7 separate regions of the Homo sapiens genome follow, and all the other regions are linked to region 1. The links are contacts of gene promoters, found by promoter capture Hi-C in blood cells and fetal thymus (Javierre and others, 2016). All regions are on one chromosome and are shown on one strand. The core of a region is centred on a gene start or on the middle of the fragment in contact, and the rest is flanking DNA. Distances in the headings are between cores, read along the strand shown.

The links. Contacts are between HindIII fragments. The CHiCAGO score rates a contact against its expected background, and 5 or more counts as called.
Region 2: a fragment that was not itself captured here is called in contact with the fragment with the promoter of GATA6-AS1 in region 1 in 1 of 17 cell types (endothelial precursors); the score reaches 5.0 in endothelial precursors.
Region 3: a fragment that was not itself captured here is called in contact with the fragment with the promoter of GATA6-AS1 in region 1 in 1 of 17 cell types (endothelial precursors); the score reaches 6.2 in endothelial precursors.
Region 4: a fragment that was not itself captured here is called in contact with the fragment with the promoter of GATA6-AS1 in region 1 in 1 of 17 cell types (endothelial precursors); the score reaches 6.4 in endothelial precursors.
Region 5: a fragment that was not itself captured here is called in contact with the fragment with the promoter of GATA6-AS1 in region 1 in 4 of 17 cell types (endothelial precursors, total CD8 T cells, megakaryocytes and 1 more); the score reaches 12.5 in endothelial precursors.
Region 6: a contact is called between a fragment that was not itself captured here and the fragment with the promoter of GATA6-AS1 in region 1, in 2 of 17 cell types (total CD8 T cells and endothelial precursors). The highest score is 5.8, in total CD8 T cells.
Region 7: a contact is called between a fragment that was not itself captured here and the fragment with the promoter of GATA6-AS1 in region 1, in 1 of 17 cell types (megakaryocytes). The highest score is 5.1, in megakaryocytes.

The regions. Positions count from the first base shown.
Region 1 is chr18:22,166,579-22,170,217 of GRCh38, forward strand. It overlaps GATA6-AS1 (GATA6 antisense RNA 1 (head to head)), which reads right to left and starts at 2,390. Exons shown (of 2, transcript NR_102763.1): 1 at 2,089-2,390; 2 at 320-1,805. GATA6 (GATA binding protein 6) reads left to right here and starts at 3,011. Exons shown (of 7, transcript NM_005257.6): 1 at 3,011-3,104. RefSeq lists an enhancer at 656-1,159. The HindIII fragment of the contact is 8,900 bases long and covers 1-3,639 here.
Region 2 is chr18:22,644,087-22,647,725 of GRCh38, forward strand. It overlaps the pseudogene RNU6-1032P. Among named protein-coding and RNA genes, the nearest start is that of CTAGE1, 230 kb to the left of the region's middle. The HindIII fragment of the contact is 241 bases long and covers 1,656-1,896 here.
Region 3 is chr18:22,607,850-22,611,488 of GRCh38, forward strand. LOC124904262 (a long non-coding RNA gene) reads right to left here. Exons shown (of 2, transcript XR_007066307.1): 2 at 1,705-2,344. Among named protein-coding and RNA genes, the nearest start is that of CTAGE1, 190 kb to the left of the region's middle. The HindIII fragment of the contact is 1,461 bases long and covers 845-2,305 here.
Region 4 is chr18:22,588,060-22,591,698 of GRCh38, forward strand. No RefSeq gene overlaps it. Among named protein-coding and RNA genes, the nearest start is that of CTAGE1, 170 kb to the left of the region's middle. The HindIII fragment of the contact is 3,205 bases long and covers 77-3,281 here.
Region 5 is chr18:22,567,608-22,571,246 of GRCh38, forward strand. The region is part of intron 2 of LOC124904265 (a long non-coding RNA gene); the gene reads left to right. Among named protein-coding and RNA genes, the nearest start is that of CTAGE1, 150 kb to the left of the region's middle. The HindIII fragment of the contact is 389 bases long and covers 1,456-1,844 here.
Region 6 is chr18:22,542,922-22,546,560 of GRCh38, forward strand. It overlaps LOC124904265 (a long non-coding RNA gene), which reads left to right. Exons shown (of 3, transcript XR_007066310.1): 2 at 637-800. Among named protein-coding and RNA genes, the nearest start is that of CTAGE1, 130 kb to the left of the region's middle. The HindIII fragment of the contact is 1,967 bases long and covers 738-2,704 here.
Region 7 is chr18:22,479,163-22,482,801 of GRCh38, forward strand. No RefSeq gene overlaps it. Among named protein-coding and RNA genes, the nearest start is that of CTAGE1, 63 kb to the left of the region's middle. The HindIII fragment of the contact is 6,192 bases long and covers 1-3,639 here.

The DNA of each region.
Region 1 (3,639 bases), core at 1,140-3,639:
AAAGGAAGGAAAAGAAAAAATATATATCCCCACGAAGAAAACAATAACTTTTAAGAGCTGTCCGCGTACTTTGGACACTAGTGGGGGCCTTCTCCCCAGCTCTTGGGTTTCTCCCTAGTTTGGGGTGCACCTCTTCCCTCCAAACTTCCTAATTTGCCGGCCTTCCAGACCAGCTGGGGCGCGCCCAGGAAGCTCCACGCGCGGGTCTGGGGCTCATGGGAGTGGCTTTGAAAACATGCTTGTCTTCCCCAGAGCGGTCCCTAGCGCCAAAGATGCATTGGGGAAAAGGCACATTGGAGACGTCAGGCAGCCTGGTTTTCTGTCTGAATCAACTGTACGAGTTAAACAGTTTTATTTCGAAATTAACCAACATAAACAACAACAACAACAACAACATTCACTACCCATTCCCTCGTTAGGTTGGAAAACCAGTCTGAAAAAATAAATACAATCTGTGACCATGAAAAGGAGCAATCACTTATTTTTCCCATATGTTTTGAACATTATTTTTAAAAATAGATTGGGAATCTGGAGGGTAAAATGCCGGGTCCCTTCCCGAGCCCTTAGAGCCCGAACGTTGTCGAATCGGTCAATGTCCACCCCGCTGCTCACCTCTGTCCCAGCAGCGCCGGGGCCAGCGCGCCCTCCCGCCGCGTCTGCGGAGCTGCGGGAAAAGCAGGTCCCCGGGGGGTATCGAGTGTCCAGGGATATCCACGCAGACATCCTTGTACTTGCAAATACAAAGAAACACACAGGACAGAGATCAGGCTCGCGCCAGGGCTCGATCTCCTCGGGGCTCAGGGTTGGAGGCCGTACACAGCCTGGACACAAACTGAGCCAAAGAGTTTATTTTTAGCAAATAAGATATGAGTTTTTAGAAAATTGCTTCGAATAGCAAATCCGAGAAACATTATTTCAAAACGTTGGAATCAAAGGAAATCAAATGCCCACAACCCATTTCCGTCAGTGCTTACAAATGAGCTTCTGCAAAACCCAGTCCACTTAAACATTTGGTCGGAACTCACGAAAAGAACCAAAAGCAAGGCATTCCGAGTCCTGGCGGGGGTTGAGCGGCCGGGCGGACGCCTGGCTATCTCTTCTGGGAGTCGCGCATTCGATCGCATTCAGGTTAAAATTTAAAGCCCCTGGATCCTGCTCCAGTCGCCAGCCTCTCCATTCCAGAGTTTTCTACCTTCAGCCTTTTCCAAATGCGGCCACGCTGAAACTGGGAGCCGCCGCAGTGATTGGGGGAGGCAAAGTGGAACGTAATAAAAGTGACTAAATTGGATGAGAACGGTTTCTGGACCTTCTCGGTAGCAATTTAAAATTCAGAAGTGTTTAGAAGCAATTTACAACGAAGAATGAAAAACGAAGAATTCTCGCCAACTTCCTGAATTCCTTGCCCCCTCCCCCGCACTGCCAGGCCCTGTCCCGCTCCCCCAGGAGCCACAAGTTCACAACTCACAGTTACGTGCAGAGGAAACAACGCTTAGCTACGAGGTCTCACCATCTCTGGAAACCATACTTTACAAGGCACCTCTCCACCCCAGTTCAACTCTGCACAGGCTCCTCTTCCTTCCCTAACTGGGAAAACACGAAAATAGAAACAAAACAAAAAACCAGAGCCTAAACGCTTTCTAGGAGACCGACCTTCAGAAAATCATTTACTTGGATTTACCTGGGCGGGGGGTAGGGGGTGGGGTCGGGGTAAAGTATAAAAATTCATTCTCACAAAAACAACGCCTCTTGTCCTAAAGTCTCCCTCGGCAGCCTTCTGGGGTCACGTCTGTCGGAAGAAATCCTTTCTGTAAGCGAAAGGGAGCGAGACATATATCACGGCTCCTGCAGCGGACGAGCCTGCGGCCGCGCGAGTTGCCGCTGACAGATCGGCGCTGATAACCCCGCGACGTTCATTTCCAGTCCCTTTTGCCCGCTAGGGACCGTATCAGTTTGTACAGAGTTGTGATAACTGTTTGGAGGGAGCGAAGAGGGGGTGTGTATATGAACGTGGGGGTGGGGAAGCAGCATTTAGCGCTGGGTCCAGGGAAGGTGACACCCCCTCTTCGCAGTGACTTATCTGTGACTTACCTGAAACTCTCCAGGGAAATATCAGAAACTCTCCAGGGACATCAAAAGTTGGAGAGCGTCCTCGGACACGACTGATGTGGAAGCCCTTTTCCATTCTGCGTACCCCATAGACTACCTTTCCGTACATGACGACCCGAGTTAAAGTTCCCAAAGGTCAGCTGGGGAATGTTGTCTTGAGGTTCCCGAAACCACCACGACCTGAGCCGTAGCATCCCGAGATAGGGTCGGAGAAAGTTTAAGGTCGGTCTCACACAACTTCAGGGCAAAAAGCGCATTTGCTGTGAAGGGGCTAGGCGGGGGTTGGGGGGCGGGGGGGCGCAGAGCACGTTCCCCCTTCCTTCTGGGGGCGTGCTGACCCAAGGTCTGGAGCGCCCCTCCCGCCGCGGCGGCGGCGCGGGACTGTGCACTGCCAACTCCTCCCGTGCCAAGGCTCCCTCCCCCTCCCTCGTGTGGGTGTGTGTGTGCGACTGCGGGAGCGGGAGGGTGCACCGCCGCTGGATGGGTGCGGGTCGCTAGCCAGGTCAGGCGTTCTGTGGCCTCCGCCCCTCCCCCGGGGTCCCTGGGCTCGGTGCCCCCCGGGTGGACTCGCCCCCACTCCGGGGACAGGGCTTGCGGCTCAGCCCACGCCCGCAGGCAGCGCGGCTCTCATTGTCTGCCTGGGCGGCGCGCTCCCCTCCCCCCTCGCCGTCCCCTCCCCACCCTCTTTTCTCTCCTCCCCTCGATCCCTCCTCCTCCTCTTCACCTCCAGCGCCCAGCTGCTCGCTGAGCGCAGTTCCGACCCACAGCCTGGCACCCTTCGGCGAGCGCTGTTTGTTTAGGGCTCGGTGAGTCCAATCAGGAGCCCAGGCTGCAGTTTTCCGGCAGAGCAGTAAGAGGCGCCTCCTCTCTCCTTTTTATTCACCAGCAGCGCGGCGCAGACCCCGGACTCGCGCTCGCCCGCTGGCGCCCTCGGCTTCTCTCCGCGCCTGGGAGCACCCTCCGCCGCGGCCGTTCTCCATGCGCAGCGCCCGCCCGAGGTTCGGCTGCTTCCTCCTCGCGCGATCTCCCCGCTTTCCTCCCCTCCACCCCTACTCGTCGCGGGCCCCTGGCCTCCGGCTCTCCGGCCCTCTCCAGGCCGCGGTCGGCTCCGACGGTGTTTCCCTCCTTCCCTCCGGGCGGGCTGAGGCGGCTCCCAGGCTCCCGGGACACCGCGGACCAACTTCTAGTCTCTTTTTCTCTCCTCGAAGCGCTTATCTGCGCGCAGCCTTATCTCCGAGTTATCTCGGCGCAAAGGGGCGGGAGCCGGTAGTTAGGCAGGCAGAGAAACTTCTTTCTTGCTATCTAGCCAGGTCTGTGTGTGGGCATTAATTTTAGTGTGGTAATCTCCGATGAGCCGAGGCGATTTGGAAGAGCAGCCTGGAGGAGGCCAGCCCGGCTGCATTTCACCTCCCTCCCCCACTCGCTCCGAGTCTCCCTGTCATTCTTCCTGCTCTCCCATTTGGGGTCGCCTCGGCTCTGGGGCGGTCTCACGCTCCCCCCTCCCCAGCCCGTTGCGTTCCCCCTCCTTTTCTC
Region 2 (3,639 bases), core at 526-3,025, 480 kb after region 1:
CCTATTTCAGCCACTAATTCATTTGACCCAGAACGCATTACATCATCTCCCTCAAATTCACTGTCTTCATATGTATGATGATAGCTTTAAACCAGATCATGTCTAAAGTTCCATCCAACTTGAAAATCCATGATTATATGAAACCAGACTACAAGTGGCCCTTGAATAACATGGGTTTGAACTGTGTGCATCCACTTATAAGCAGATTTTTTTAAATAAATATACTGGAAAAATTTTTGCAGATTTGTGACAATTTCAAAAAACTCACAGACAAAAAGCAGAGCTTAGAAATATCAAAAAGATTAAGAAAAAAGGTACGTCACAAATGCACAAAATATATGTAGATATTAGTTTATCACTTACTACCATAAAATATATACGAATTTATTATAAAATGTTAAAACTTACCAAAACTTAGGTACACAAACACTCTACATGGCACCATTCACATAAATATAAAGATGTAGTATTAAATCATAACTGCATAAAGCTAACCATGCTACACACTGTACTACTGTAATAATTTCATAGCCACCTCCTGTTGCTGTTGAGATGAGCTCAAGTGTTGCAAGTATCCACTTAAAACCCTGTGTGACACTAATCATCTTTGCGTGAACAGTTCATCTCTCCAGTATACTGCGTTACCACAGTAAAAAGTGATCTCTCAAAGTTCTAGGTATCTTTCATTGTGTTTAGTGCAATATTGTAAACCTTGAATAATACCATGGGATCCATATGTAGTGCCACTAGCCATGCTGGAAATGCTCCCAAGAACAGAGAAAAGTCATAACATTACAAGAAAAGTCATAACATTACAAGAAAACGTTGAACTGCTTGATATATTACTGTAGAATGAGGTCTGCCGCTGCACTTGCCCACCATCTCAGACAGACAATTCGTCTTGTAAACAGATGATGTAAACTTACTACTGTGATTACTACAGTACAGTACCGTAACTGTATTTTATCTTCCTTATGATTTTCTTTCTTTCTTTTTTTTTGAGACGGAGTCTTGCTCTGTTGCCAGGCTGCAGTGCAGTGGCGCGATCTCGGCTCACTGCAACCTCCGCTTCCCGGGTTCAAGCAATACTCCGGCATCAGCCTCCCAAGTAGCTGGGACTACAGGCAAGCACCACCACGCCCAGTTAATTTTTGTGCTTTTAGTAGAGACGGGGTTTCACCATGTTGGCCAGAATGGTCTAGATCTCTTGACCTCGTGATTCGCCCGCCTCGGCCTCCCAAAGTGCTGGGATTACAGGCGTGAGCCACCGTGCCCGGCCCTTATGATTTTCTTAATAACATTTTCTATTCTGTAGCTTACTTTATTGTAAGAATACAGTATATAATACCTATACAAAATATATGTTAATCGACTGTTTATGTTATTAGCAAGGCTTCTGGTCAACAGTAGGCTATCAGTAGTTAATTTCTGAAGGAGTCAAAAGTTATACGTGGATTTTCAACTGCGTGGGGGGTCAGCACCAAAATCTTAAGTTGTTCAGGGGTCAACTAACTGTACTTTGAAAACTGAATAGGAAGAAAGAGCCTACATTTTTCCTTACAGAGAAATGCCAAGACTTTTGTTAACTTTCAAACTGGAGGAATGCTAACTGTCATAGCTGAGATCTGGGAAAATTTTAACTTATGCCAAAGTCAAGCTTCTACATAATTATTTTTAAAGTGAGGATAATTTTTCTACTTGAGACAACCTAGCACAGTGACAGAATAAGAAGATAGAAAATGTGTCACTATTTACTCTTGCTGAATGTAAATCCATAACTTAACTGAAGAGTAGGTGAAATGCATTACCTTCCCAGGGAAGAACTCAAATCTCTTTCCTGAGAATCATTCCCTTTCTGCAAGAATTCTATGAAAGAATTATATACAATAGAATAAAAGCTTATTATTTATTTACTAAATCAAAGTTGCCTGGATCATTATTACACATTTATCAGAAAAAGTCATAAATTTTCTGCTTAGAGATTTTACACTTAGCCGGGCGCGGTGGCTCACGCCTGTAATCCCAGCACTTTCGGAGGCTGAGGTGGGCAGATCACAAGGTCAGGAGTTCCAGACCAGCCTGGCCAATATGGTGAAACCCCATCTCTACTATAAATATAAAAATTAGCCGGGCATGGTGGCGCGTGCCTGTAGTCCCAGCTACTCAGGAGGCTGAGGCAGGAGAATTGCTTGAACCCAGGAGGCGGAGGTTGCAGTAAGCCGAGATCGCGCCACTGTACTCTAGCCGGGGCAACAGAGTGAGACGCTGTCTCAAAAAAAAAAAAAAAAGAGATTTTACACTTTATAATAGAATTAAAATACTCAGAATTGGAATAACTCTAAAAATGAATACAAGTAATTTAAAGGAAAATATGTACTGGATTTAGTCAATAAAGTAGTATAAAAATATACAAGCTACAGGTAGGTGCTGTAGTTTAAAATTAAGCATCTTGGTATTTGTTAATTGTGTCCTTGGAAGGCATCTTTTATATCAGCCTGACTAAAATGATCTACCACCCTTTGCTCTCTCTTTAAACAAATACAGTGAGTTTACTTCCTCACACTTTGATACAAATTTCTCTATTCCGGTGAATATGGATGTCTATTTTTTCTTTCTTGGTAAGCAGAAAGAAGTCTGAATCACAATTCAAAATGCAATTTTAGTTTAAGTCGAAAATGGGGGGACTACTAATTATATGGGCAATAGTATTATGATGTGCTAAGAATGCCATCAAAACTTCTGTCTGCATATATATTATATATGCATATATTTGTGCATTAATTATATAATAGAAATAACATATACTGTGTGTTATCTATTATCTATTTTCTATCATCTCCACTTTAACTTAAGACATAAGTACAGATTAATTAATAACCCTTAGCAAATTAATTAAAATGGGAATTCTTTTCACGAAGTCACATATATCTAAAGTTGTAAGGACCAACATACATGTTGGTTTCAGTGTTAATCTTTTCCTTTAAAGATCAAGTATGATTACCGTTTGGAAATTAATTTTAGGCAGCTATTTGACTAATATCATAGCTGACTCAGCTAAGAAAGAAAAGAGCAAGAATTGAGAAGCCTCATTCAATATTGACTGCAAACTGTGGCAATGCTAGAGTTCCTAACAAAAATCATCTATGTAAAGTTTGGTTACACAAACTGGCTAACAAGCTGGTAGGGACAGCTTAAATTTGCAGTATGTGTACACTAGTTTATCATAACCTCAATTGAATAATGTACACTCTCTAACCCCCCCCAAAAATTACTGAGTATCTTAGCTTTGGGCTTTAACTATTTGGACTAGCAAGTTTTGTTTTGTTTTGATTTGTTTTTAGTAGCTATTCCCAAAATGTAAATCAGTTAGTCAGATAATATATGATGAATATATTTAATAATTGATACACTCAACAAGAATGAAAGTATTCATGGATATGAAAAAATACCTCCCCTTTTCAAAAAGGTAATTTATGTATTAAGAAAAAAACTTCAGTGCTCACTTTGGCAGCAAATATACTAAAATTGGAATGATATAGAGAAGATGTACATGGTCCCTGTGCAAGGATGACATGCAGATTTGCGAAGCGTTCTATATTTTTTTATCTACGCAGCAAACCACCATGGCACACGTTTACC
Region 3 (3,639 bases), core at 325-2,824, 440 kb after region 1:
CTCCAGGCTGCACAGAGCCCTGCAAAGTGGTGGGGTCAGGGCAGATTCAAGAAAATCTAAGGTCTACACCTTCTCTCAGCCCCACAACCTTGTTGGTAAGTTGGACTCACTGCCTGAATCCCCCTTCCTTAGGTCGATCCCTCTCTCAGGCATCCGGAGAATCTCCCCAGCAATTTGACCTCTGTCACCCTGCCCTGCTCTCCCCATTTTGTTCTCCAGATGAGCTGGTGTACATCAGGACCCCCTTTGAAGACCCAGTTCACCGTCTCTTACCGGGAAACTTCTTAGCCCCCAGAAAAATCCAAACACAAACAGCTGGCTGGAGGCTGGATGAGAAAGGAGTATCCTGACTCCACCCCCAAGACCCGTCCTGCCTCAGCCTGGCCCCAGCAGAGATGCTGTCTACAGTTGGTAGAATCCATCTCCTTCTTCAAATGCTTTTAAGGAAGCCACATTGTGGAAGGCAGTGAGAAGATCTCTTGCTCTCGCTTCCTGTACCTACAGTAGAGCCTTGGCATTATGTGAGGTGGAAGGAACTTGGACCCTGGAGTTTGAGTAAACAATACTCCAGCAACAACTTTGCCACCTGCTCACAGTGAGACCTGGGCAAGAGCTCTCTGAAGCTACTTTCTCACAGGGAGATGGGAAAGACTCGTCCTCGCCCTTGGGGTTGTTTTGAGGGTTAAATGGAAAACCTAAGATAAAGAACCTAATACAATGCCTTGCACATAGTTGGCATCTGATAATTCTTAGTTCTTATTTTTAATATATTTTTTGACTTGTGCCAGAGTGTACCATGTGGATGTTAGAGGCATTGAAAGGAGGTTTCTGGAATTGCATAACAAGCTTATCAATTACAAAAATATTTCCTTGCTATTCATTAAGTCCTAAAAAAGAAATATAAGCAATATGAAATTGTTTACATTATGAAATAACAACAGATATAACTGAATAATTTGTAAAGCAAAATTAAAATCATCCTATTCAATGTGCAGAAAAGTGGGGGAAAGGTGGGGAAGAGAACTTACATTATTCAGGTACCTATTATGTGCTATTCATATTGGCACATAATAGGTGCCTGAATATTTGGCAAGCAATATGCCAAGATTTTTGCTGTGTTCCTTAAAGGTCACATTATGGCAAGGACACTGAAGCTCTCTAGATTAGATCTCTAGAAAATAATAAACGTCATTCTTTCTTCTTCTGTCACCTTCCTGTGTGTGTCTAAGACTCAGGCTTAATTGTCTACTTCCTATATAAATTCAGTTCCATGCCATGTCCCATGCCCTGCTGGCTTTATCCCAGACATGAAGTGCCCTGGCTTACTCAGAAAGATGAGTGCAGGCCCCTCTTCCTTGGCTTCTACCTAAGGCCAGCAGAACTCCTGAGCCTGTGCTCTAGGGGAGGAGCAGGGCTGGGGTACACTGAAGGTATTCTGACGCCTGCTTTACTTGTCACTGTTGCTTCCCTTCCAGTAATTTCCAAGGCAGCTTTCTTGGAAAAGAAACCTGCTTTAATTAAGAACCCCTGGAAATTCTGAGCAATGTTCTACTTAAACCTAGCAAAACCCTACTTGCAACAGAGAACAGGGGAGAAAGGGTGGGTAGGAGGACTGATGGAAATGGCTCCACATGATTTGATTCTGTGACCTTCAAAGTCTGAAAAAGAAAATCAGGTTGATTCATAAACAACTAGGGACTAAAATACTTCTGGCTTCCTTTTATTGTACTTCTGGGAACCAACCGATTATGTTTAGAACTCTGGGTGACTGGAAGGGTTTTGTTGCTTTTTTTTAAAGCTGGTCCTGAAACCATAATCAGTTTTCTAGGCTGTTCATTTTGGCATGTGCAGGTTGAACTTTTGTCACTCAATCACAAAGGCATGGAAGATGTTCAGTTTCAAAGAAGGAAGCCAATCCGTGACCAAGGCCACCAAATCCAACACCAAAAACAAACACAAAGGGCTGCATTCCCACACGTCACCACTGGCCCATTTCCAGAGCAGATCCTGACGGATGAGAGGCAGCAGGGAGGAGATGCTGGCTTGCTGCAGGGTTTAGCAGTTAATCTCAGGTGGCTGAAGCATGCCTTGTGCTTCAACCGAAAGGACTGAGACACGGAGATATTAAACAAAGCCTGTGTAACCCTTAAACAAACAGAGAAGGGAGCCAAGAATTGCTGTAGTCATAATCCCTTATTCTACAGCATCCACGGTGTTCAAGGCATCTTCATCAACAGTATGTGTTTTGATTGATTCCTCATTATAATCCAAGCAGTTATTATTAATATTTAGCCCCATTTCTCAAAGCTTTGTGGCTGAAAGACTGCCAGGACCGACGTTCTTTCTAGAAAAAAAAAATAGGTATTCTAAAAACAATTAGAGAAAACTTTAGACATCCCTCCCACAAAAGAGAAACTTTCCCCACCCATGCTGCAGGTCCAGAAATGTGCCCACTGCCATTATCCTTCTAAAACACATGCACACAAGTACTGAAGAGTAATTGTTTTTTATACTTTGTTTCTTAATCTAATGCTTTATACAAGGTCAAAACTTGAAAGATCATCTACAAGGTCTATTAAAAAACACTTTCTTCTCATTTTTGGGTTCTACTAAATTTGGAAATCCAATTTAAAGCCAATAGGTAAGGGAATAATATAGTTTCACACACTTATAATTTTATCTCATCTGCAAAGAAACTTCAAAACTAAATTCCATCCTGGAGTGGAATAACATATGCTTGCCCGTCAGCTATTTGCTAACTCTGTCTAATTTTCAGAAAAAAAGGGTGTTGTTCTGTTTCTAGATGTTTTATTCTGTAGTGTATATAAGGTTGCAATGTATTTAAAAATTTTTTTGGAAATAGATGTGGTATAAATCTTACATAAATAATGACAATTAAGATCTCCAAGAATAATATTATTTTATAGCTAGAGGTTTGGATTAACAGGCAAGAAAACAAAAACAAGAGTTTTCTACCAATGCGCAGGAATTTTGTGTTTTAATTTTCTCATCTACAAGAGGTGGTGCAACAGCGCTGTCCTGGGAGGCAAAGGACCAGGAGTCCAGTCTTCCTATGCTTATACCACATGCAACTTCCAGCAATGCATTCAATCTCTGAATAGTGTCCATCAAATGGGGACTAAAGACACCTTATCTATTTAAAAACAAGGAGTTGGATCAATTTGCTTATAGTTCTTTTATTTCTTAAGATCTATGGATCCTTCCTCAAAACATTTAGCTCTAAAACAATCTTGTAGATTAGGTCAAATGCAAACCACAAAACCATGTCTAGTAGCTTTTTAACAATCAAACCTCCACATGATTTTGCACTGATGCTAGAGAGAGTGAAGAAGGTGGCAGTCTTTCTGTCCAGTTCTCATAAACTATTGCTATTTCTAATAAAGTAACCTAAGCACCTGCTGTGGATAAGGCCCCAGGAAAGAAAAGTTTGCTGCCTCTAGACTAATAAAGAGAACTGACCATTGATCTTAGAGAAATGTTAATTTCCAAGCGAGTATTTTTTAAAACTCCTCCTTTGCTTTTATGTTTCCTAGGTTACCATAAATAGAACCTACACACTTTATTTGTACCATCTTAATGTCTTCGATTGAAGTGCTGTGTCCTTATCCTAGATTCTTA
Region 4 (3,639 bases), core at 429-2,928, 420 kb after region 1:
GCACATATACCCTAGAATTTAAAAAAGAAAAAAAAGAATTCTAAGTTAAAGAATTAGAAAACATAGAAAAAAATAAAGCTTATCATTAAATGTAACTGCTAATTCTTTGCAACATAAATACAATGAATAACCTGTTAGCTAATCTATTCAAGATACGTGGAAGAAAGGACAAATAACAATTTAAATATCATAAAAGTGAAACAAACCACAAAAACCAAGTAAACTAAAAGAATCCAAAGAAACCACATTGCCCATGACTAAAAAACACATTTGAAAAACAAAAGGAAATGAAATGTTTTCATAAAGAAATGTAGTTTACAAAAACTGACACCAGAAGAGATGAAAGATCTAAGCAGACCAATTACCATAAAGGAAATATAGCAAGTTGCAAAAGAACTTTACCTTCATCCAATTCCCTAATCCCCCAATATCTCACCCAAGAAAGCACCAGGTCTAGACAGTTTCAGAGGAAAATTTTTCCAAGGCTTTCAGAAATAGATTACTTCAATGCTATTTAAATGGTTTCAGAACTTAGAAGGAGCACTTCCAAATTATTTTCATAAATCTAGCATAAAATCAGTATCAAAAACTAACAAAAATAACACACAACCAAAAACTACAGATAAATCTCAGATATGAGTATAAATGGAAATATTCTAAATAAAACATCAGTGAATAAAATCTAGCCACTTAACAGAGAAACACAACATAAACTAAGTAGATGTATTCCAGGAATGTAAAGATGTTTCAACATCAGCAAGTTTATCAGTTTAATTAGCAGCATTCATAGATCAAAAGAGGAAAATTGTATAACCATCTTCATAGGTACTGACAAGGTATTTAAGATTACTGTAAAAACAGCTGGAACTCTTATACACCTGGTGGTAGTAAAAATCTGCACAGCCACTTTGGGAAACGGACAGTATCTACAAAACTGAACATATACATACCCTATTATCTCTTAGGGTTAAGCCACAATAAATACATACATATGTTCAGTAAAAGACTTGTACCAGAATGATCATAACAACTGAAAGCTGAAAACAACCAAACATCCATCAACAGTGGAAGGGAGAAAAAAGTTATGGTATATTTCTACAATACCCTACAAACACTATTAAAGTGAGCAAACTTTGGCTACATACAGCATGGATCCATCTCATTGACATGATGTTGAGCAAAAGAATATATACTGCATAATTCCATCTATACAGAATGCAAAACAAGACAAAACTAATATATAGTTTTAGGAGTCAGGATAATGCTTACTTTTGGGGAGGCTATTACCTGGGAGGGGCTGTGTGGGGCTGTGTAGGAGCTTCTGGGATACTGATGATGCTCTCTTTTCTCACCTGGTTGTTGGGTTACACAGGTTCTCCACCTTATGAATCACAATACCAATGACTTGTGCACTTTTCTACATGCATTTCTACACTTTAAGATAAAGTATACTTTAAAAAAAAAAACAAAGATACTTTTGAACCCCTCGTGCTCCAGATAAGACCACCCTTTCCTTCTTCTCCTTGTTCCTGCTCACCATAGACAGGAATCAAAAGAAGGCCCAAGGCTTTGCCTGTTTGTGGCCATGCTTCCCACTCCATCCCCACCCTCCCTACAACTCTCAGAGCCTCACCGCCAGTATAGGCCGAAAGACCATCAGAAACAATTTCATTACACCTTTATGTGTTCACATCCATCGCCACAAGAAGCCCAGGACCCACAAGCTATCTCTCATCCCCTGTACTCTAACTTTCTTTCTGACCCTGTGTCTCATCCCTCTCCAACTGCTGAAACCTTTACACTGTTCCCTCTATGGCTCTTGGACAGTCTCCAGCAAAATCCTCAAACCCTCAGCTTCTTCTCTGAAAGTCCCCTTCAGTTTTTGCTCTAAAAGGACCTGAGGACCCTGCAGCCCTCTCCTGGTGGGACACTTTCTCCCCACATCCTTCTACCATGAGGCATATGGTGAGCTAGGGGTTCTCCTAGCTCTGTGTTGTCATTTCTTTTTTTTTCTTTTTTTTTTTTTCTTTGAGATGGAGTTTTGCTCTGTCGCCCAGGCTGGAGTGCAGTGGCGCGATCTCGGCTCACTGCAACCTCCGCCTCCCGGGTTCAAGCAATTCTCCTGCCTCAGCCTCCTGAGTAGCTGGGATTACTGGTGCCCGCCACCATGACCAGCTAATTTTTGTATTTTTAGTAGAGACGGGGTTTCACCATGTTGGTCAGGCTGGTCTCGAACCCCTGACCTCGTGATCCACCCGCCTCAGCCTCCCAAAGTGCTGGGATTACAGGCGTGAGCCACCGCGCCTGGCCTGTGTTGTCATTTCTTCTTCTGTCTTCTGTCTTCCCTGAAACTCCCAGCCTAGAATGTCTTGTTTTCAGGCTTTAACACCCTTCTCATTGTTGCATTTGCCTACCACTCCTGGTCACAAATATCCTGATGTTTTTCCTTTTCCCTTGCTGTCACTTCTTTAATATGCCCATCATAATTATTGATGTTTCAAGAGCCACAAAGATGATCCTTTCAACATCTTGGCCATTCTGTTCCTCCACCTCCCCTCATCCAGTGATCTTCTCCCTCTGTCCTCAGACACTCACCCTCATGGTAACACCCTAGACTTTCTAAACACCTTAACAGCACCTCCTCCAGCACCACAGTTTTAAGGATGGCCACTCTCTGACCACTACCTCTAGTCTTTTTGGCTTCACTCTCTCTATTATTTTTACTTTACCACTTTTTTATCTCCTTCACTGAGACCTACAAAACAGGGAGAAAGATGCATGTATTGAACAAAATACCGGTGGGTTTGAATAATGAACAGAATACCTGTAGCTCCATGTCTATAACCAGGACAGACTTAAATATATACAGGCATTAATAAATCTAGGAAGGAAGGACAATTTCAAATGGTGGCTTTTTTCCTAGATTCAAGAATATGTTGTTTTTTAACTGACTGTATATTTAGTGAGAAATTTAGTAGTATGATATCATAGTGGTTCAAATTTTGAATCTCTTTTTGAGAGAAAAGGGGGCAGGAAAGAACCAGAAAACATGGCATTAAGTAACTCAAAGAGGAGAAGTGGTTTCTCTTATTCTTTCCAAGGATCCTGTGGTAAAAGTAAGAAGGAAATGAAGTATATGCCAAGAGGAGAGCCCAAGGTAGTAAGGGTAGATGGGTAGTTATAACTACCTGTTGTTTCTTTCCCTTTTGGATGGCAGGGGCATGATTTACATGTTCATGAATTTCTAATCTAGAAGGCATTCATGCAAAACAAAGACCATAAGCTTATGTTACAACATAGTCTCTGCAAGGAAGGGACATGTCTGGTCAAGCTGTCAGAAATCACCAGAAGTCTCTCAGCGTGTGCCCCTTTGCTGTTCTGGAAGCTGTGTCAGTTCTTTGAAGCAAACCATATTTTTTTGGGCAACACACCAAATGGTGATGTAAACCTCAAAGCCTGATAAGTTGCATCTCAGTTCTAGCTTTTTCTCAGAAAACTTTGCTTTGTCTGCTACAACTTTTAGAAGATACAGAGGGAGAGAATTCATTGACTCATTGACTGGGGCAATAGTCAACAACATTAGGATGTTAGAGAAAGTCCAAGTTGAGGAGAACTGGATGTCTGAAACTCTTTGATTAT
Region 5 (3,639 bases), core at 400-2,899, 400 kb after region 1:
AAAAACACTAAAGTTGATGGAGAAAAAAATTTGGTCTATATAGCAAACATTCCTTGTATAATGTTTCACAAAATTAACAGGTTTGGTTCATTAAAAAACGCTATTTGACACAACTTTTCTTCATTTAAGTGGCTAAAAGCACTATATACATTTTTCTTAAGATCCATAGATCTAATTTATTAGCTCTATAATCTAATAAATGCACTGTGAAGAAAGAAAAGAATGGTAAGTTTTATTGGCTCAATGTAGAAAATAAAAATCATAGGCTGGAATAGAATAATGTTGAGCCTGAAGTTAATCTTCCAGACAATCTAATCTAGGCTTGACAAATACATGGAGTCAGGATAGGCACTTTCTTAGTTACTGTTTAAGGCAGACATAACTAATCAATCTCCAGACATAACTAATCAATCTCAGCAATTTCTAATTGAACACAGACATATACAGTCTCATAATTCTTCTTAAAACAGAGCTCTGGGTAGCCTCTACCATTCACTGAAGTTGGTGCATGTAAAGAAACTATTTGCTATAGCTGGTATTCTCACTCCTTTAATATATATGCATGTGGAGGATGAAAAGCATGCAGTGACCTACTTGATCATTGTCACCCAGCTAGTAAATGAAAGCATTAGCGTTATAACCCTGATTATCTTTGCATGACCCCAGTCAAACTCGTAAAGTTATGGCATGTGTGACATTCAGCTGATTGCAATTGAGTACCTGCAATTCCAAGTTTAGCAATTATGATGCTCCTGGAAAGAGTTTCTATTACCAACTTTATAATTTCCATTGAGAAAGAAGTGAAATAAGGAAAACATTCTTATGGCTTATGGTTATGTATGAGTTCCTTTATTGTTCATAAAGGAGATTATCTTTATTCATAATTTAAAGGAGAATGTTAAAACATTTACTGCATACAAAATTATTATTAGGCTATGGCTGCTATTTAAATGTAATGCCCTTAGAAACAGGGAATAAAATATAAAGAGATTGAGGCAAAAGAGCTCTTTTGCATTAAATCTTGTTTGTTACAACAAAAATTCACAATATACCACAAGTGCAGTTTATAACTATTTACCTTCATATTAAAGTGATGATGACAGTAAGAGTCTTTGGATTTAATAATGTCTTACTCCACCTATTAAGACAGTGTAATTATCTAGTTTTAAGTTTGATATAATATCCATAGATATTATAGCGATGGATATATATCCATCACTCTGTTCAACTCATGAGTAAAAGCAAAACACAGAAATTAGGTGCCTGCTAGTAAAAGTCTCCAAAAGAAAAAAAGTAGAAACCACTCTTGGTTGATAGTCATTTATTCACCTTATGTCAATGAAGACTTCTACTAACACATGATGTTTCTAGACTTTCTTCTTTCAAATATAGCTTTAAAACAATTTTTGTCACTATAATTCACACACATTATTTAAAAATCAGATTGTGCTAAGAAGCTTTTAATAAAAAACAGCAGCTACTCCATTCTCCCTCCCCTTTACACACACTCGCGTGCACACACACACAGAGACACTGTTTCTCTCTCTCTCTCTCTAAAACCCTGAAGGCAACCACTTTCAACTTTTTTAGCTGTTTATTTTGATATTTACTTCTGTATTTCTAATGAACATACTTATATTACTTGATTTATCTATTTGGACATTATCTGTTATGGTGAACAACATTTCAGTTCTTCTACATACCCCTTTTCCTTTCCTTTCTACTACCTCAATTTTTTGTTCACTCCCTAATCAACGTTCATTATTATGACTATGAACATGTTGTTTCCTATATTGCTGGGCTTTCCAGCAAAGTCGTGTTTTATGATTTAATTTTTCTTGCAAAGCTTTTTGTTTTTCTTGGAGTTAATAGTTGTCTCGTATTCTCATTCACTTAGGGGTCTGTTTTTTTTTTCACCCCTGCCAAATCTTTTCACACACCCCAACAGTTTTGTAAAGGGCCTCTCAATACAATTTTCCAGAGTCAAATCTAGAAATTGTTCTGTCAGTTTCATTTTGTTTTTCTGGAGTCATCCCTTATCCACCTGCTTCAGTTTGCCTAGCTGCTCTGTAGGTCTCCTGCACAGCTATTGTCCTGGTATTTCCCCTGGCACCTCCGCGGTATTAGATCCCTTCTTTCCAGGATTCCACATCTTCTCTTTTCTTGGCATACTCTCTTCTCTTTTCTTTGCATACTCCCTTATATTCCCTTGGTGTCGCATCCTTTGAGAGCTTCCTGAGAAAAAAAATGCATGGGACATAACTTTTTCTGAGACTTTCCATATCTGAAAATATCTTTATTCAACCCTCAAAGTTGATTGATAGTTTCACTGGGTATCAAATTTAAGTTAAAATATTATTTTTATTGAGAACATGAAGTCATTGCTCATTGTCTTCCAGCTTTCAGTGGTGCAAATGGAAAGGTCACTGCCCTTATTCCTGATGTTTTGCAGATGATGCTTTACTCTATCTTTGGAAATGTTTAGAATATTATTTTATTCCCTGTATTCCAAGTTTCAAAATGATGTGCCATAGCATGAGTCTTCTCTTAATTCACTGGTTTGACACTTGGAAGGCTCCGGTTGCTTAGTTATTAAAAAAATGTATATAGAGATAATTTGCACCTGTTTTGTTTCTTTCCATAATGCTCATTAGTATGGTATTGAATTGATTCTTTAATTTTCTCATCTTTTCCCTTTTGTTTTTCATCTCTGTGTTTTTATTCTACTTTCTGGAAGAGTTCCTTCACTTTGTCTCTGACCTTTTAACGGAATATTTTATTTCTGCTATCATATTTTTAATTGACTACAACTCTTGTTCTTTTTATATCTCCCTCATCTGTTTCATGGATACCATGTCTCTGAGAGTATTATAGTTTGCTTTTAAGAAGTTTTCTTCTCCTCTTGCAATGTCTGTCTCCTTCAAGCTCCTTTGCTTTCCTGTGTATTTTGGACACTGTCTTTCCTGGTGCAGGCTTCCCTCAATGCCATTTGTTGCTAGCTGTCTAATTCTATTTAAGAATGAGGCACTGAACACCTGACTGAGACCTCTGTGGGAAGCAGTGCCTCGCTGTGGAATGACTGGGCATCACTGCATTGTGGTCAGGTACTCCCATGCAACTGTACCTTCACATCCCTCCTGCAGGTGGTTCAAGGTACCCGAAGAAGGCTATTCCAAGGTCTTAGCTGTGGGTGAAGGCCTGGCCACGTTCTGAGATGGTGGGAAAGAGGACTGGGGTGGTGTACTCTTCGTTCCTAGCTTTCCTTTCCCTCAGCCCATCTCTACCTGCTTTGTGCCAATTGGCCACAAATTCAGAGCTTTCTGATTCAATCTCTTCAGGGCCTAAACTCCTGTCTCCTGTTGAGGGTGGGGTGGGTGCATTCAGCTGACTGCATCAATTGATGGAAACAATTCTGGGGTCTATAGTTCTATATGAACTTTTAAGGGACCTCCCATTTTTAGCATCCATCCCTGAACTTTTGCTAGAACCTGGTGCCCTATTCCCCAGACCTTCCCTAGGTTCTGTGGAGTGAATTGCCTCATCTACTAAGTGTAGCCCTCTGCAGACAGTTTGTGCTCCTGTCTCTCTCTCTTCTTTGTTCTATGGCTCAGGACTACAGAGGTTCTGGGTACCATTAGA
Region 6 (3,639 bases), core at 471-2,970, 380 kb after region 1:
TGGAGCTCCATTATTCTCCGTTTTAAAGTTAGGCTGGCTCAGTGTGGTGGCTCACACCTGTAATCCCAGCACTTTGGGAGGCCAAGGCAGGAGGATCTCTTGAGCCCAGGAGTTCGAGACCAGCCTGGACAACAAAGTGAGAACCTGCCTCTACAAAAAATTTATTTTAAATAGCTGAGTGTGGTGGTGTGCACCTGTGGTCCCAGCTATTTGGGAGGCTAATGTGGGAGGATCGCTTGAGCCCAGGAAGTTGAGGGTGCAGTGAGCCATGATTGTGCCACTGCAACCCAGGCTGGGTGATACAGTGAGACCATGTCTCAACAAATAAAATAAAAAGGTTCAGCTGATACTGATAACTCTGTTCCATAAGGTAGTCCACTTAACCAGAGCCCATTTATCGAGAGCCTGCCATGTGCAGAGTCCTGCATAAAGGCTGGTGGTGAGATTGAATAGAATCGTGTAGTGAAGACACAGCCAAGCTGCTGCCTCATCAAAGGCTCTCCCTAAACGTTGGGTGACTGTGGGAAGTGGTTGGGGAAAGAGGACACATTAGGCCTGGGTTCTTTTAAAATGTGGATATTCGTTCAGGTTCTTTAAATAGTTATTGAAACTATTAAAAATTACTTTCTTCCACAGGAATAATGATTGAGCACCAGAAACAGACAAGCGAGGTCCTGGGAATAGAGCATAAACACAGGAAAAGCAAACTCCATTCTGGCTTGGGGGGACCTTGACTAAGCTTTGACAAATGTGCACAGACTCCCAAGAGGATCCAAGCCTTCAAATCCAGGTTCAAACAGGTAAAGAGTGGAGGGGCAAGGTGCCAGTTAAGTTGGGGGAAAGGCGATGAAAGGGGCAGATTAATATATTACAAGGAAAACTATAGGAGAATTCCTGGGAACAAACTAGCAGACATGTTTATCCTGCAAGAAGCCTGGGTGATTTGAGCGTTTGGCTGGAGGGAGGGGAAGAAGGAGCTAGCATTAATCATGCTCCCAAATTCAACTCCAGCATCTAACGAAATAGACAATAACTGGTTTCGCCACTCCTGTTCCTCACATCCCCTGGGGTCAAGGCCTGGCTGGAATTCAAACAGGATTTCAGATCGGGCCTGGAAAGTTGTGTACATTTAAGTTCATTCTGGAAGGCATGCTTGATATAGAAATGGATTTTTCTTGGTCTAATTTTGAGAGGATCTGAACTTAGTGAGAGTAAGTGGGTGCTTTAAATAATCTCCTACTCTTTTTTTCTTAAGAGGAGAATTTATCGCAGAGACTGGCCAATGGCACTGACCACACCTATTTCAAGTCCTAGCTTGGAACATAGATTTTTTGTGTTTTTAATGGAAAAATAGAAGTCCTTGTAAACTACCATTTACCTTTCATTTGCCTCTTCCTCATGTTGTGTGATTTCTTTTGGCATCATAGTGCTCCCCTAAAGGGTCCACCAAGGTGAACTTGGCTAGGCAGTGCTTCAAAACACCCCATCGGTGGAGATTAAGGATGACAGGTCAAAACCAATGCCACTCTTGGGCTGCCTGGCATGCACCTAGGAAATCAGGCACACCCATGCTGAAATAAGGAATCGACTTTGCTCAGGAAGAGTCATCTATGCATTTCTTCTTTCGGTGATATATGTAGTAGGGGTCAAGGGTGGGGACCGAATTTGGAGAGAGCAGGAGAGAAGGGCTGGAGGGGTGGATGAGATGGCAGACAGGGGAAGTAAACTAAGGGTAAACCAGAACATCCCATGACACCAGTTATGAGGAGACTCGCTAGTGCTGAAGTTTCTGCTGTGCCAAAGACGCCTGTTTCAGGATGAGTCCAATTTTAGCCCAGGAGAAATAAATCAACTATAGGGCAAAAGGTTTAATGAGTAAAATGTATCATTCCAAAAATGTGATGCAGTCCACATCCAAAGTTTCTAGGTCAAATAACATGAGGAACTAATGCAGAAAAAGAAAGCAGCTGCCTGGGCGTGGTGGCACGGGTCCCAGCACCAGGTCCTCACACCACATCCTTGTACCACATCCTCCCAACCTCCTACCACTGGGGTCCTGCCCAGCCAGGAGGCAATGGGAGGGAAACCCAGCCTTGCAATTCTTTAATTTTGGGGAAAGTGAGGTGGGGAGTTTCTGACTTGTATATCCTTTAATTAAAGGGAATCTGACCTCTTCTATGATGATAATAATAATAAAATGTCTCAGAAGAGAATGGGAGCGTGCAAGAGAGTTATGCATTATGCACAAGACAGCAGGGCTTGGAACAGTAAAATCTTGTTTGCTCACGCGGCTCTGAGTAACCTAAGGGGGAAAAAACTCAGAACATTATTGATTAGATGCCAATTCACATGGCTCTCTTTGTCTGCTTTTTATTATCAGTATTTCTTTAAAAGGTTAATAGATCCTGGTCCTGACAAGCGTGAAGCCAGGAGGTGGGCTCTTATCCAGTGTTTTCATTCTTCAGCCCTCAAGAGACAATGATTAGATCTTAATATTGAATGCACAAACCACACTCACTGTGTGAACTTTCTGAGAGAGCTCCCCACCTAAAGACAGAAGAAGTGAAGAAGTTTTATTGGAAGGATTGTCAAAGGCGGGGGGCGGGGAACACTTTGAGTCTCTTTGAGCCAGTTGATTAGGGGTGAGTTGATTTTCTTATGAACACTCTAAATCTACTCTCCCTGGGGGCAGGGAAACCTGAGAAGCTTGGATTTCAATGATTTAATTCCCCTTCTAAGAATAGCCAAAACTGGGGTGGAGAGAAGCTAATGAAGTCAACCACAGAAAGAACATTTGCAAATTGAGCAAAGCCCTGTGAATCTTAGGTAATAGCTGGGAGCCGAGTTTCTTTCTTCCACATCTCATAAACTACAAAATAACTCAGCAAAACATGTCAACCAATGGATGCTCTCCACAGGTTACATGATCTAAAGCTGAGATACAAGAAGCCAAACACAATTAAAACGTGCTTCCATTGGTAGGTTCATGGTGATGCTTTGCAGAGGTATCACCTAACCTACCAAGCTTTGGACATGCTTTATTCATTACAACACTGTCAAGATTAAGTTGCCACGACTTCATATCCCAGTTCATGAATTGCATCTACATACACCATATAATGAGCCTCACCAGTGTACGGAATGTGGACAGGTCTTCCCTTAATGCTGGGATTAATTAGTTAGTCTCTGGATGTGCCCTTGAGGTTTAGCGATTCACTTCACTCCCCAGTGCAGTGAATCCAAAAAGTACAAGATCCTTTCTCCAAGGAGGAGATGCAAATTCACAGATAGCCTGAAGCCTAACCTTGGGTTAGCCCCTGAGATCGACCCAGTTCCTTCTTACAGCAGGATCTCCTTGTGATGGCTTGGCAGGATTGACTGAGCTAGTGCTTCCTTCCAATGTTTGATTGGTTAAATAAAGATATCTTTCAATGTTTATATAATAGCATTCAGAACATAGTCTCCAGGGTAACTAGTGAGTAGAAATGGCAACATGTATGAGTCGGAATATTAAAAAGGAAATACACAAATCAGTCTTTCATTTCAAGGGTACATTTGATGTTGCATATCAATATCATTTTACATTTGAGGGTGAGCCCACCCTATGTTCCCTGTGAGCTGTGAGCAAGAGACAATAAT
Region 7 (3,639 bases), core at 604-3,103, 310 kb after region 1:
TTGTGAAGACAGGATTCACAGCAATAAACTCCTACATTTAAAAAGTAGAAAGATTTCAAATAAACAATTTAATGATGCACCTGAAATAACTAGAAAAGCAAGAACAAACCAAACCCAAAATTAATAGCAGGACAAAAATAATACAGATCAGAGCAGAACTAAACAAAATAGAGACTAAAATACAATATCAAAAATCAGTTAAATGAAGAGTTAGTTTTTTGAAAAGATAAACAAGATCAATAAACTCCTAACTAGATTAATCAGAAAAAAGAGAGAAGACCCAAATAAACCAAACTAGAAACAAAAAAGAAGACATTACAAGTGATACCACAGAAATACAAAAGATCATCAAACGTTGTTATAAACAACTATACACTAACAAACTGGAAAATTTAGAGGAAATGGATCTATTTCTGGACACATACAGCCTACCAAGATTGAATCAGGAAAGAATAAAAAGCCTGAACAGACCAATAATGAGTAGAAAAATTGAATCAGTAATAAAAATTCTTCCAAAAAAACAAAAGCTCAGGACCAGATAAATTCACTGCTGAATTCTACCAAACTTACAAAGAACTGATACCAATTCTCCTCAAACTGTTACAAAAAAATTAAAAAAGAAGGGATTCTCCCTATCTCAATCTATAATGCCAGCACCACCCTGATACAAAACCAGACCAGGATGTGACAAAAAAGAAAACTACAGGCCAATATCCCTGATGAACATAGAGACAAAAATCCTCAACAAATTACTAGCAAACAAAATGCAACAGCATATCAAAAAGACAATACACCATGATCAAGTGGGATTTATCCCAGGTTGCAAGGATGGCTCAACATATGCAAATCAATAAATGTGATACATTACATCAACAGATGAAGGACAAAATCCACATGATCATCTCAACAGACACAGAAAACAACATTTATTAACATCCAATATAACTTCATTAAAATCTTTCAATAAACTAGGCATAGAAGGAGCATATCTCAACATAACAGCTATATATGACAAACCCACAGCTAACATGGGGAAAAACTAAAAGATTTTCTTCTAAGAACTGAAAAGAGACAAGAACGCCTACTTTCACTACTCCTATTCAACACAATATTGGAAGTCCTAGCCAAAGAAATCAGGCAAGAAAGAAAAATACAAGGCATCCAAATTTGAAAAGAGGAAGTAAATTGTCCCTCTTTGCTGATGATACGATTTTATATCTAGAAAACCAAAAAGCTCTTAGAGGTAATAAATAAATTCAGCAAAGTTGCAGAATACAAAATCAACAAACAAAAATCAGTAGTGTTTCTATACCCCCATAATGAATTAGATGAAAAAGATATCAGGAAGGTAATTCTATCTACAATAGCTACAGAAAAAACTAACTAAAAGCCTAGGAATAAATTTAACTAGTTAAGTGAAATATTTCTACAAGGAAAACTGCAAAACACTAATGAAAGAAATTAAAGAGAACACAAACAAATAGAAAGACATCCCATGTTCTTGGGTTGGAATAATTAATATCATTAAAATGACCATACTACCCAAACACATCTACAGATTCAATGCAGTCTCTATCAAAATACCATTGTCATTTTTCACAAAAATAGAAAAAAAATCCTAAAACTTCTATGGAACCAAAAAAGAGACCAAATAGACAAAACAATCTTGAGTAAAAAGAATAAAGCTGAAGGCATCATACCACCTAACTTCAAAATATGTTACAAGACTATAGTAACCAAAACAGCATGATATTGATATCAAAACAGACACATGGACCAGCAGAAAAGAGTAAAGAACCAGAAATAAATTGATGTATTTGCAGCCAATTGACTTTCAACAAAGGCACCAAGGACATACATTGGAGAAAGGACACTCTATTCAATAAATATTGCTGGAAAAACTGGATAGCCACATGCTGAAGAATGAAACTAGATCTCTGTCTCTCACCATAGATACAAAAAAATAAACTCAAGATGAATTAGACTTAAATGTAAGACTTAAAACTATAAAACTGCTAGATGAGTACTTGGGGGAAACACTTTAAGACATCGGTCTAGGCAAAGATTTTATGGCTAAGACTTCAAAAGCACAGACAACAGAACCAAAAATAGACAAAAAGGACTATATTAAACTAAAAAGTTTCTGCACAGCAAAGGAAACAATAAACAGAGTGAAGAGACAACCTATAAAATGGGAGAAAATATTTGCAAATTATAAATCAAACAAGGGACTAATATCCAGAATATACAAGAAATGCAAACAACTCAACAGAAAATAAACAAATAAACTCATAAAAAGTGGCCAAATGACATGAATAGACATTTCTTAAAAGAAAACATTAAATAACCAACAGGTATATTTTTAAATGCTCAACATCACTAATCATTAGGGAAATGCAAATCAAACAATAATGAGATATTATCTTACTCCAGTTAGAATGGCTATTATTAAAAAGACAAAAATGAACAGTTGTTGGTGAGAAAGTAAAGAAAAGGAAATTCTTATACACTATTGGTAAATGTAAATCAGTACAGCCACTATGAAAAGCAGTATGGAAATTTCTCAAAAAACTAAAAATAGAACTACGTGATCCAGCAACCTCACTACTGGATATTTATCCAAAGGAAAGGAAATGAGTATATCAAAGGGATAGCTACACCCCATGTTTTTGGCAGCACTATTCACAACAGCAAAGTTATGGAATCAACCTAAGTGTCCATCAGTGGACAAATGGATAAAGAAAATGTGGTATATATATGCAATGGAATACTATTTGGCAATAAAAAAGAATAAAATCATGTCATTTGCAGCAACATGGATGTAACTAGAGGTCGTTATCTTAAGTGAAATAAGCCAGAAAGACAAATATTGCATATTGTCACTTATATATGGGAGCTTAAAAGGTTAATCTCATGAATGTAGACAGTAGAATGATAGCTACTGAGGTAGGAGGCAGAAATGACTCCCAAGGCAGGGCTAAGGCACCAGACCAAATTGAGGACTAGCTAAAACAGGTCTGTGGCAAAAGCAGCTTTCTGTAAGACATATACACTAGTATGTCATGTCAGTTTACCATTGCCATGGCAACACCTGGTAGTTACTGCCCCTCTCCATGGTGACAACCCAGAAATTACTATCCTCATTCTAGAAATTTCTGCATAAACTGCCCCTTAATTTGCATATATTAAAGTGGGTATAGATATGAGTGCAGAACTGCCTCTGAGCTGCCATTCTGGGCATACTGCCTCTGGGGTAGCCCTGCTTTGCAAGGAGCAGTACCTCTGCTTCTGCTGTACACTGCTGCTTCAATAAAAGTTGCTGTCTGACACCACCAGCTTGCCCTTGAATTCTTTCCTGGGCAAAGCCGAGAACCCTCCCTGGCTAAGCCCCAGTTTTGGGGGTTTGCCTATCTTGCATCAATACCAGTGACTGGGAAACCTTTGTGGGTGTGAAGGGGGGATAAGGAGAGGTTGGCTAAAGCATACCAACATACAGTTAGATAGAAGGAATAAGTTCTAATGTTTGATAACAGAGCAGGGTGACTATAGTTAACAATAATGTATATATCAAAATATCTAAAAGAGAGGACTTGAAATATTCCCAAGACATAAAAATGATAAATACTCAAGTGATGGACA